Regions from separate parts of the Homo sapiens genome. Here region 1 is linked to region 2. Evidence: promoter capture Hi-C in 16 types of primary human blood cells and fetal thymus (Javierre and others, 2016). All regions are on one chromosome and are shown on one strand. Each heading gives the region's core, a stretch centred on a gene start or on the middle of the fragment in contact. The rest is flanking DNA. Distances are from core to core; before and after follow the strand shown. Region 1 overlaps FGF12 (fibroblast growth factor 12). Region 2 holds the start of ATP13A4-AS1 (ATP13A4 antisense RNA 1).

Evidence for each region. The method cuts DNA at HindIII sites, captures the fragments that hold promoters and counts their contacts. A CHiCAGO score of 5 or more calls a contact.
Region 1: a contact is called between a fragment that was not itself captured here and the fragment with the promoter of ATP13A4-AS1 in region 2, in 1 of 17 cell types (total B cells). The highest score is 5.0, in total B cells.

What each region holds. Positions count from the first base shown.
Region 1 is chr3:192,484,042-192,490,364 of GRCh38, forward strand. The region is part of intron 2 of FGF12 (fibroblast growth factor 12); the gene reads right to left. Among named protein-coding and RNA genes, the nearest start is that of FGF12-AS2, 28 kb to the right of the region's middle. The HindIII fragment of the contact is 5,083 bases long and covers 1-3,868 here.
Region 2 is chr3:193,550,378-193,556,849 of GRCh38, forward strand. It overlaps ATP13A4-AS1 (ATP13A4 antisense RNA 1), which reads left to right and starts at 2,836. Exons shown (of 2, transcript NR_121666.1): 1 at 2,836-2,910; 2 at 4,393-5,207. It overlaps ATP13A4 (ATPase 13A4), which reads right to left and starts at 4,518. Exons shown (of 30, transcript NM_032279.4): 1 at 4,363-4,518. The coding sequence starts at 4,422. The HindIII fragment of the contact is 3,457 bases long and covers 1,474-4,930 here.

The sequences.
Region 1 (6,323 bases), core at 77-2,576, 1.1 Mb before region 2:
TGAGCCTGAAAGATTGGGGAACTGATTTTATCCCTGATAGCAATGAAGACTAGCCACAGAGGCCCAGTTAAGTAGATGAAATAGCAAACTCTATTTTGGTCTTGAATCAAAGAGAAGGGCACTTTGGGGACAGGTGATACTGTTAAAGCCAGTGTTTTTCTGAGAGAGTACTCTCTATTATCACCACTTAGGTGCAAAGATTCTGATCTCTATGCAAAAGAACACTCAACAACTGGATGCTCTTTTAATCCAATAGAGATCCTTCCATTTTCCTAAAAAAAAAAAAAAAAAAAAAAAGAACATCAATTTGTATTAATCTAGAGCTTGCTCTAGAACCTGATATAAACATAGACTCTGAAATTCCACACAGACCCTTCAGTCAGTGCATGATAAAATATGCTGATTACAGCTCGCATATCCCCACAAAAAGCAAAATACAGCCTGTTGTTCTACCTTATTATTCTATTATTGACATATTCATAATATACAGCAGTTAACTTTTAGGATGTGAATATTTCTGTAAGAGGGAATTATCATTTAAACTGTTGCCAAAGTGAATGATCGGCTGTGAGAGGTAGTATAGGAGAAGAGCAGGTTTCTCTGGGTGAAAAGAGAGGACAGTTGCCATAAAGGTGGGCGGACCTTATGCACTCTCCCAGGCTGAATCGACAGGCCCACATTGCACAGGCCCAAAGGGCACTATTTCCATTGTATTTATATGAAATGTAATTTCTTGAAACACAATTCCAGAAAGCCATGTGAATGGTGCTCCCGGAACTGTGCAACTTGTTGGCTATTTTCTAGACCAGAGCTCAGTTCAAAGACAACAATGCATTTTCTAGGAGTTTCATCTCTTTATTTGTATTTTTAATTTAAGTCTACATGTTTCAAGATTGGTCTACAGCCCCACCCTCCATAATCAATGCCTGGATTTTAAATTTTATATGTGTACACATAAATTTTAAAATTTTAAATTTTATATGTGTACACATAAATTTTAAAATTTTAAATTTTATATGTGTACACATAAATTTTAAAATTTTAAATTTTATATGTATACACATAAACATCCATCTATCTGTATGTATTATATCTATAAACAGGTGTGCATGTGTGCATAAGTATGTTTATCTATTATTTAGAAGTAGACATATTCTAAGGCATCTGAGCAATGACTTTATTGACTTTATGGAGACTAATTATTGCCACAAAATTTTGAAACGAATGTTTCTGGTTTGTATTATATGTTTCACTCCAATAAAGTTAAGATTAAATCACTGTGAATTGAAGAAATAATTGTTTGAGGTAGTTCAAATTGAGAAAATGGAGTAATCACCAGACTTTTGAAAAGTTAAATATTAATGCTTCGACAGTAAGAAGACATTTTACTTAGCAGGCATACGTCTTTCAGAAATCCCAGCTCTAGGAATACCATTGTTAGAATAATTCATTCATAGTAAGACTAAATAGCAAATATTCAACAAGAAATTTATCTGTTCCCAATTCCAGCAATTAGTTGATAAAACATTTTAATGTAGTTTTCAGTAATGCTGTCTTATTAACTGTCTTCCAAAATTTTTTTTAGTGATATCATTACATTTAGCATTTTAGGATTTCTAGCAGGCAAACATTTAGTTAAGTATGAAGTCTAATTACCCTTAAGTAAAAAAACCAAGAAATTAGTAATATAATTTTATTCAACATACTTATGTGAACAGATTCTCTGTATAAGTATTATTGAAATAAAAGCATAGAAACATTAAATATATAACTGCATCTGAACTGAGATAATTTTATGTCATTAAACATTAAATTAATATTGCTAATTTAGATTGAATTGTCTCTGTATAGACTTGTTTATAATTTAATTTGTAAATTATCTAGTTTCATCATTTTGTACGCACTATAAACAAGAGAATTTTATGCCATATACGTGCATATATAATACGTAGTAAAAATAACCTAAGTTGACAGTGGATGGCCATTAATACGGTTTTTCATTATAAAAAGTGAGTCCTTTACCTAAGTTCGAGGAACACTGCTCCAGAAGATCTAGGTCCAAAGAATACAGCACCAAACCAACACATCCAGGACATAAGCCTTTCAAGTCCTTTTATGCAGTGATCCATCCATTCATATTTATTGAATGCCTCCTGTGTGTTAGACACTGGAGTTATATATCAATGAGCAAGACAGACGTTTCTTATCCTCAAGTAGTTTACACTCAAATGAGTGAGACAGATAATTAACATGAAAGCAAATAGTTTTTTTTTTAATTCAAATTGCATTCAGTGTATGAATGGTCCTGTGGCAAACAGAGTAACTGGGAGGACCAGTTGGTATTAAATAATCATCCGTGGGAGCCTCTTGGAGAGCATATTGCTTCAGATGAGGCCTTGATGAAAGAATGAGCCATGTAAAAACAAAGAGTGAACACGGATGGCAAGGGGAAATGTTGCAGAAGAGGGAACAAAAAATTAAAAGCCTCTAGTGTCGGAAAAGTTTGGCATAGCCTAGGAAGTAAAAGAAGAATACTGTGGCTCGAAAATTGTGAGCAGGAGGAAGAAGAGCATGAGACAAGGTCACAGAGGTAAGCAAGACACCCTGTTCAGGGCCTTGAAGGCCATGTTAAAGTGTTCTTCTTTCATTCTGAGTGGAATGGGAAGACATTGAGGAGTACAAGCAGTAGACAAACATGATATAATTTATATTTTGAGAACATCAGGCTACAGTGGGTAAGATGGCTAGATGTGTCATGAATAAACACTGAACACTCATAGATGGACAAGGATACGACCTCTTTTATTCAGAGCCAAAACTGTCTTAAAAGGAACTAGAGCCAAGACTGTGTTTACAAGTGTGTTTTATATGTTTTAATTTGAGTTGCCAAAATTATTAAAATCATGAGATTTCACTTAAAATATCTGGATTTCCTCCTGCATCTTTGGATTTGTTTTACTATTATTATTATTATTATTTTCTGGAAGATCCAGTAACATTGAGCCTGCAGTCCTGCCTAGAACCAACTGGCTGGAGCTGAGTAGTAGCTGGTTAATTTCCCCATTTGGAAAGTGCTGTGATTTCATATTTGTCACATTTCTTCCAAATCCCCTACTGCCTAAGAACTAGCCTACCTCATTCACTTTTCTTACTTGTTGGCTACAGCTAGATGCATTTATTATTTTCTACTTCCTCATAGCAACCATAGTAACTAATAACAATCACAGCCCTTGGGAGCTGTTCCTAGTGCCGCTTCGAAACCTTGGTAAAGACTATGCCAACTTGATCTTTTTTTTCTAAACCTGATCTTAATTCACTTATTAGTCCCAGATGACTTTGTCCGTTGTTTCTCCAAGACCACACCTAGGCATGAAACATCAACTTGTCCTATCTCATTGCTCATCCAAGCCTAGTGCTTAGCTTCAGTTCTGTGAGCCATTATCCCAGGTCTCAAGCTCGCCTGTTCGATCATGCTTGTTTCTGAAGACATTCACACAGGGCCTCTGCACTATTTACATCTACTGTTCATGTCATTGCTGGACCCTTTGAGGGGCAGGGTATTGTATACAAAATTAAGTGTTTTAGTTGGCAAAATCGATGCTGCCTAACGTGCTTTGTTTATAATATGTTTATAATGTAAACGTAAAGAATGTACAATCCTAATTGTATTTTATGTGTAACCTCTTGGGTTGAGATTAACTGAAGCCTGTTTCTAGTTTTATCCCTTTACTCTCATCTGCCTGGAAAGTATGCAATTTAGTCAAATCATGAAAACTAAATGTTTCTAAAAGAATGTAAGGGTATTAGGTCGGGAATTTTAACTTGTTCATTACTGTAACTCCAGTACCTAGAGTAGTGGGACCTGGGAAGCTTCTCAGTACATATTTTGTTGAGTAGGAATGAATGCCAGGCTATGAGACATGCAGCACAATATTGTGCTCTGGACATATGAGATGGCTAAATGGAAAACCATGCTCATGCTTGCTGACAAGATCTCTAAAATAACAGAAGCATCGTCTATATCACTTTCTTCTCCAAACAACACCAGTTACTTAACTATAAGCTATGGCTTCTGGCTCATATGCTGTTTTCCTAAGCTATTTATATTATGAATCTATAATATCCCTCAGAATAATAAAATTCTTCATTAATTACCTCTTGATAAAAGTAACTATTGGTTCAATACATAATCTTGAAACATACCAATAGATACAATAATTATGAAATTATGAAATATCTGGGGAATATTTCCTAATATGGAAATATAACGTTCATCACTAATAACCACATACGAAAATAGAGTTACCTAAATATTGCTTAACCCAGGTCTAAATTGTATCTTCCAATCACAGTCACATTTCTTTCCTCTTCTTCCTCTTCCTGAGCAAAACTTCTTGGACGGAAAAGACATTCATCAGACTCAGCATAAAATGAAAATCTCTCAGTCCATTAGCTCCACCTTTATCAATACCACATTGGAAATGACATAGTTGTGATTCTTTTCTTTCTCTTTCCTTCCATTCAATACAGAAAATGTCAACTCTTGCCAAATTAATTCTACCACCTTATCACCAAACTAAATATTAACAAACGACCATCAAAGACAAAAGTTATGTTGTGTGAGCCTTAATTGGATGAGAACCTCGTCTTGCTGCTTGCAGGGAGTCAACTGTCAGGAAACGGAATTTATAGACTAACCTGATTCCTAAGACTTGTTTAAAACAAAAAGAACCTCAAGAACTTCATATGACCATCTTTCTCTCTGTAGGGCAATACATACTTCGGCTTTGAAACAACATCTGAATCAATGTGCTATCTTTCTGTGCACTAACTCAACTGATTTCATGACAAATTAATTTGTCAGAAATCAACAACTGCAGGTTAGAGATAGAAATAAAGTCACATGAAAGACCAAATTGGGGCTATTTTGGATCTGTTAGCCTTATGATAGGATGCTTTAATTTATGCATCATAGAAATCTCTTTACACCACTGCCTGTAATTGCAGCATCTCACAATGCTTGCCTGCGCTCTGGTTTCACTTTATTCTGGAAAAGCTGGTAAAAAGTCACTTTATGTAACTGATGACTTGCTGGGCCAAAGTAACTTTTAGACATATTATCTAATCATTTTTTAATCTCGTGATATCATTATTATCACAATAATAAAAATAACAATAAAAAGAGCAAAAATACTACACATAAAAAGACTTAGTGAGTTTCCCATCATCAAATGGAATACTTAATTTTCCCTATACAAATTTCCATTTTTTTTAATTCTCTATGTGAATATAAAATTGCACATTACAAAAAACCCATGCCCCTAATTCATTCTTCACTCCAATGCCGTCATTGCTATAGAAGACCCATTTAATGGCCTATCTAAATCCATTTCTTTTTCTTCTTTGCCAAGAGAGTCTCAGTTTTCTTCAGAACAACAATGTGCTTAGTCCCAGGTAACTAATCATAATCAACGCAAGCCAAACTTAATAATACTATGCCTCACTTCTAGCCAGAAGTCACCTACTTTCGGTAATTAGACTTGGGAAGAAGCCTTTGCAGGGATGTTTGGGAAACTTTTACTCCCCTGAGGAGAAAGAGAGACTAGGGTGGCAGGCATCACTCTGCCACCCTTTTGCTGCTTTGAATTTAGGCTTCATATCTGGAACTGCAACAACTATCTTGAGACTAAAAAAGCAAGTCAGAGTATAAATGGCAACACACTAAAGATACCACAGAAAGAGCTCCTAGACACAGAGACGGGAATGACACACACTGGGACCTATCAGAGGGTGGAGGCTGGGAAGAGGGAGAGGATCAGGAAAAATAACTAATGGGTAACAGGCTTAATACCTGGGCGATGAAATAATCTGTACAACAAACCCCCATGACACATGTTTATCTATTTAACAAACCTACACATGTACCCCTGAATTTAAAATAAAAGTTAAAAAAATACTAAGTTCTTTGTGAAATCCAGCAAAATGCCTACTTTCAGACTTAGTATTTGAGAAAAATCCATCCTCATTTGATGAAGACACTGAAGTCTGTAACTTACAGTGGAATACTTTTCTAAGTGATACAGTGGTTTTTTTAGTAGCTCAGGACTTCTAAAGAAAAGTCTCACCTTGTTTCTTGTGTTTCTCTTTAAATCTGCTTTCCACTTTAGCTCTCAAATAGCCACTCAAATTGCTCACGATTCTCTGAATTCTCTCTGTGGTTCGCTGCAGGATTTTGTAAATGGTTCTACCTCCATCACTGAAGTATTTTGCCATCTTTATTTTTCTTCATCAAAAGTTATGTTAGTACAGGTGTATTTCATGAC
Region 2 (6,472 bases), core at 1,586-4,085:
CTCACTGCAGCCTCAACCTCCTGGACCAAAGCGAGCTTCCCACCTGAGCCTCTCAAGTAGCTGGGACTACAGGTGGATACCACCACATCCAGATAATTTTTTTGTATTTTTATAGACAGGGTTTCACTATGTTGCCCAGGCTGGTCTGGAACTCCTGGGCTCAAGCAATCTGCACGCCTCAGCCTCCCAAAGTGCCGGGATTACAGGCTTGAGCCATGGCGCGCAGCCTGCATTTTTTATTGACATGTCTGGTGGTAAACTCATGAAGCATATTTACTTCATTCTTTAGATCCTTATTTGCCATTTCAATATTTTTACAATAAACATATGTTACCTTTATAATCAGAAAAGAATTCAAAGGTTTTTTTATTTTTTGTCTTATTTGTTAAGGCCTAGAGAAAAATATCAGGGAACGTTACTTTTTAAAAGTCTCACTGGAACAAAACACTTCCCCAAAAGATTGATTGTGTTAAGGTGTAACTAAAGAGCAATGTTAGAATCAATTAAGCCATGATACCTTCGTTCAGCCATGGTATAAGGAAATGGTTCTAAATTCCTTCAAAATAGAAATACAAAACGTCAGGACTCAAAGAGATTTGTGCTCCCAGACATTCTCATACTCTCACTTTACAAATAAGGAAGCTAAAAAAGGTAGGTGTTTTCCCAACGTATGCACAAGGTAAGTAGAAGATAACCCAGCTCCTCTCCATTTATAAGTGGTCTCTACGGCCTATGAATAAAAGTACATATTCCTGGCCAGGTGCGGTGGCTCATGCCCATAATCCCAGCACTTTGGGAGGCTGAGGCAGGTGGATCACAAGGTCAAGAGATTAAGACCATCCTGGCCAACACGGTGAAACACCATCTCTTCTAAAAATACAAAAAATTAGCCAGGCATGGTGGCATGCAGCTGTAGTCCCAGGTACTCGGGAGGCTGAAGCAGGAGAAACACTTGAACCCAGGAGGCAGAGGTTGCAGTGAGCCGAGATCACGCCACTGCACTCCAGCCTGGCAACAGAGCAAGACTCCGTGTAACAAAAAGAAAAAAAAAAAGTACATATTCCTTTTGGTATAACTGAATGGCAAGAGATGACCTCATTTTTGTGGGATAGTATTTACTCAATTGGTTAATTGCTAAGCCCTTGGCTTTTCCTACCTTTATTTAGATGATAGCAGCTCACACCTCGCCAGAACTGTTTACTTCTCAAAACATGTTTATATGGATTATCTCCACTGATCTTCATGAGAACTCTGTGAGTCTGGTGGGGGTAAGAAGGACCAGTCCTATTTTACAGGTATAAAAACTGAGGCTAGAGCAGGCAAGCGGCTGGCCCAAGGCCGGTGAGAGCCAGGCCTCCCGTCCCGTCCCAGTGCTCTCCCAGAGTTTCCTCCTCGAAGCCTTTCTGAGGCAGTCATTTAGGTGAACCTTCGCTGAAGGCCACTTTCTCACCTTTCCTTCCTTCTCCCTCCAAAAGCTTCTTTCTACCTTTGGGTCCTGTCTCATTTCGCAGTTAAAGATATTATTTTCAGGTCACCTAGGGTTGCTCTTTAGTTCCTGTTTGCTTTTGGTTTGTTACTTGTTTATTTATTTATTTTTATCTATTTACTTATTTTTGAGACAGAGTCTTGCTCTGTTGCCAGGCTGGAGTGCCATGGCGCGATCTTGGCTCACTGCAACCTCTGCCTCCCAGGTTCACGCCATACTCCTGCCTCAGCCTCCCAAGTAGCTGGGACTACAGGTGCACGCCACCCTGCCTAGCTAATTTTTGTGTTTTTAGTAGAGATGGGGTTTCACCATGTTGGCCAGGATGGTCTCAATCTCTTGACTTGGTGATCCGCCCGCCTCGGCCTCCCAAAGTGCTGGGATTACAGGCACGAGCCACCATGCCCAGCCTGTTTTTGGTTTTTTAACTCCAAAATGGAAGATAATCCCAGGCATCTTTAGGCCTCAGAATATTCTTCTTTATTTGACATGAGGTCTAAACCCTAGCATGTTGTTTTCTCTTGAAATTTGAAGTAATTTCTACCACAAGAGAAATTACGTTTGCAAAGGTTCAAGTAAAGTATATTATAAAGCATGAAACTAAACACTTTGGTGTGACACATTTCTGGACTTGGAAGTCAGAGAAGACAGACTTATTTAAGCTACTCGAATTATCTAGAAGAAAAAAGAAACTCAAATTATCTATAACAGAACAGATGCTGGGGAATCTAAGAAGACTGGATGTTGATGTTCTCCTTAGCTTTGTTTTATGAAGGAAGGGAATGTGTTCTGTTAAGAGTGGAATGTTCTCCGGAAGAACTGGAAAAGGTATCAGTGGGCTATGTTCAGGTCCAGAGACAAAAGAGCTGTCAACTTAAACTAACCTGTGCGGTGCCTCAGCTCCTGGACTTACTGGTTGATGCAACCTTAGGGAAAGCCTGTGTGCATCAATTTCCTCATCTTTAAAGTTAGAATCACAGCATCTACCTCATAGGGTTGTGAGGAAAACTAAATTAGCTAGTGGCCAAGAAAATGCTGTGTATACTAAAAATCACTACAAAATATGTAGACTATATATATAGCTTGATAATTTTTAAAGTTTACTGCTCTGGGCAAGGGATGGAGGAGTGAGTTAAAAAGGAACACAGTGTCAGACACAGCAACAGGCAGGTGGCCAGGTTTCTGTAGGCAGAAGAGGATGGAGAGCTCAGGAGTGCATACTAATTGCTGCACCTCTGCTGAGACTACTGGCCAAATGGCTGCCTACCAGAAAACACAGTGTCCCTTTCCATATTAAAGGGCCTCTCCTAACTGGGCTTTCAGCTGCATACAAAACTACGTGGAGTTCTCCATGCATCTGATGGTGCCATTATGAAGATGAACTGTTAACTAAATTGCTTTGGTGGAATATGTATGCTAGGGAAGAGGTAACAGTTTCCCTACAACCATGAATGTCTTCTGGAAAATAAATGATTCTTATTGAGACTTGAAAGACAAATTGTCTGAGAGCAGAAAGGGGTTTACTGGAAAAGAGTGAGTGTATTTCTAAATGAGAGAGAAAAAAAATGTTTCAGAGGAAGGAGCCCCTGCCTTCTGGTGAAGAGTATTCAAGATGAAGATAAACTTTTCAACTTAATATCGAGAGTAATGAGATATTCACTTCCTAAAGAAAACTCTTTAAAGAAACAAAGATGATATCCAATGTGGGCTAGCAAGCCATTTCTGGTGACATTTGTGGAGGGGCTGAAGGCAATTCATTTGGCAGTCAAATCTGAATGAAGTAAAGGATATGGTTAAGAAAGGCACCTGAATTAATGTACATTTTACTTCTTTATAATTTTTTCAGCTTTGATAGCAGAAGGGATCTACTCTTGAAAGTCCAAAAAATGTTGTTGCTATAGGAACAGGTAAGCAGATTAGACTTGAAAGACCAGTTTAGGAACAAAGAATGTAATAGTCAGGGCTAAAGCAATTAACCAAGAAAACATTTTAAGTAAATATCTTTCAGGTTTGTTATTTACATATTAATTCCAGGAAGATTAAATGCTATTATGGAATGAGAGCGTCACATTTTAACATTTTAATTACATCATTACTGGCATAAAAGACTATGCTTACACAATTAGCAGAAAGATCTTATTAAACAGAAGTACATATTTCTAACTCTCTCTTGATTATATTGTAATTGAGAAATACAGTTTTAAATTCATCCTGAGCATGAAAGTCATCTTTGATTTTCCTATAGTTCTCAAGATAGAAGCACATCTAAAATCAAAGAGATACTGAACTACCGAAAGTTTTCTGTAACCAATCTCTATAATGAGGAAGCCACAAAAGTAAAATTCTAGAAGAAAACAGAAATGTGTGTAGGCTGATAATTGTTAATATTGCATGTCTTCCCTGTCCAACAGACTCGGTGAACAAGACATTTGAGAAGAGAAGGTCAAAGACCCAGCTGCACTTCTGCTTCACTGCTGAACTTCTGCTTCTTCCTATCAGGGAATACACTGCTCCTCACATTAGGGATTTCCTAAAATTGTTAGGTGTTTTGAACAGAACTGGCTATACCAATGAGGCTCAAACAAGAATCATAAAGTGCATGGTGCTTCTCTCCCTCTCTGTTTTCTTTAAAAAGAAAACATTCTTGACAAGATGAATACAATATTTTCATTCTAGCAAATTTCTGCTGTCAGAGGTTATATTTACAGGATAGAGAGATTTCTCAAACATGACCTTTTCTCGTGTAATACCAGAGTGAAATTTTAGAAAAGTCTGTGTGTGTGTGATGCGTGCGTGTGTGTGTGTGTGTGTGTGTGTGTGTGTGTGTCTCGCAGGCTGAGAAGTGGGATGGGAAGAAGGGAATGTGGCTAGAATCTTACCATCTCATTCTCTTCTCCTTCATTGAGCAGAGCGTGCTGGCCCTTCTCAAAGTGTCCCATGAAAAAGTTATTCCACACCTCCTCCCTGACCTTGTCGTGCAGACGCTTCCAGGATGAACTCCAACTCGCCGAGCCACCGCAGCTCCTCAGCTGACTAAAAGAGTTAATGATCCTCCAGGTTAAAACTCCTCCTTGAGCACACACCTTCTCTCAACAAATGACAATACTTGGCAAACTGAACTCCTCCCACGAGTCGCCCTCTGCTAGGAGGAATTGCTGGCTGCTCCCTGCTTATTGCATTCTCTCAGAGCAGCTGTCTCAAAGGAGGCTGCTCCCATGCCGATCTTTTTGTGCCCAACTTACAGGGAAAGAACTCATTGCCTGCCCAGTGCCTGCCAGCCTCAGACTTCTGACTGCAAATCCAACAGGACAATACAGAGTTGGCAGGACCCTTCTCAGGAGTGAGGAGCGGGTGCAAGAACTCCCAGGTCACTGCTTTATTCAGAGGACCTAAGGAATTGGGTTGAGCGGAAGCGCACAGAGCTGCAGATTTTCTTTGATGAATGAAAGCTTCAATCCACAGGTTTCTAATAGTACTCTCATTCATTTTGCTTACAAAAGGTACAGATTATCACTAATCCTCTTCAAAAGGTATTTGTAATCACATTTCCTTGTATATGCAAAAAAAATTCTATTTAAAGTGTATGTGAAATTAAGTTTACTTTTTTGAAACACATGTAGAAAAAGAACAAAGGTATCATCAAACTAGTCTATGTAGTCTCCTTTCACTAAAATATTGATGGTTCAACACTTAAGGAAGTCTAGAAATAAAATATTCAAATGACTATATGGCCAGACTCTTTTTTAATTTGTTTACACATTTATTCAATAAACAGTGCCTGAGCACAGGGACTACCTAAAAAAGTTAAGTCATATTTGCTACCCTCGTGTTGATGTAAGGATTCAAACATCCAAACAAATATGATAGAAAGTGGATTGTTATTATAAGAGATGGAACAGAAGTCTAAGAAAACTGTCAGAAGTCCCAATGTGGTGTAGAGAAACACACCCCTACCCTAGCTCTGGCAAAATACCTGTATTCCAGCTGCTTGTCTGCACTGGCCTTGCTGTGTGATCATTTAACTATAGGAACCGGCTCTTCTCATCTGGTACCGCCCGACAGGACTTTTGAGAGAATGGAATGAGATCATTGTGAAAGTACATTGTACAGCACTGATCAAGTGCTGTTAGGATTATTAAACTAAATGTGCATTTGAACAGTAGGTGTTAGGACATAGTGGCTAAGGGCATATACACTAAATTTGGAAGGCCTGAGTTCAAATTTGGACTGTACTAGGTGGTCGTTGTGCTACCTTGGGATATAACAAGTTATACAAACTCCATTCTCCTCTATTTCCTCACATGTAACATAAAGATGATGATAATAGAACCTACGTCCTAAAACAGACTTTTAAGAAAGAGTGCCTGGGAAATAATAGGTGTTCCACAAAAGATAGTTATTTTTACCTTCACCATGTCCACTGTCTGTCCCTCAAGCTACATTGGCAATGATATCTCCAACCTGACCCAAATAACCCTAATGTGACCAAGATCAATGTGTGCATGTGTGTGTGTGTATATGTTGTATGTGTAAAACCTTGAGCAAATAGTGAAGTATAGGATAAACATAAAAAGTAAGCTAAGTAAACCCATTGTAATAGTAATTACAAAATATATATGTACGTGTGTGTGTATGTGTGTGTGTGTGTGTATATATATATGTAGTTCTCTTGGTTTCAAAAATTTGCTAGCACAATTTAACCAAATAAATGAAAATAAAATTAACATTTTATCACAAGGTCAAAATATAAGGAGTAAAGGGTTTATGGGGGGGGTAATAAAAATGTTCTAGAACTACTGATGGCTTCAAAAATTTGTGAACATACTAAACCTCACTGAACTCTATACTTTAAAAGGGTGAATTTTATGAAATGTGAATTATATCTCAATGAAGAGATATAACAAATTTAAAAATCATACCTCAATAAAAAATTATACCTCAAAAAAACCTAACTGAACATTTAACAGCCTTACTAGGCAGTAATTATAT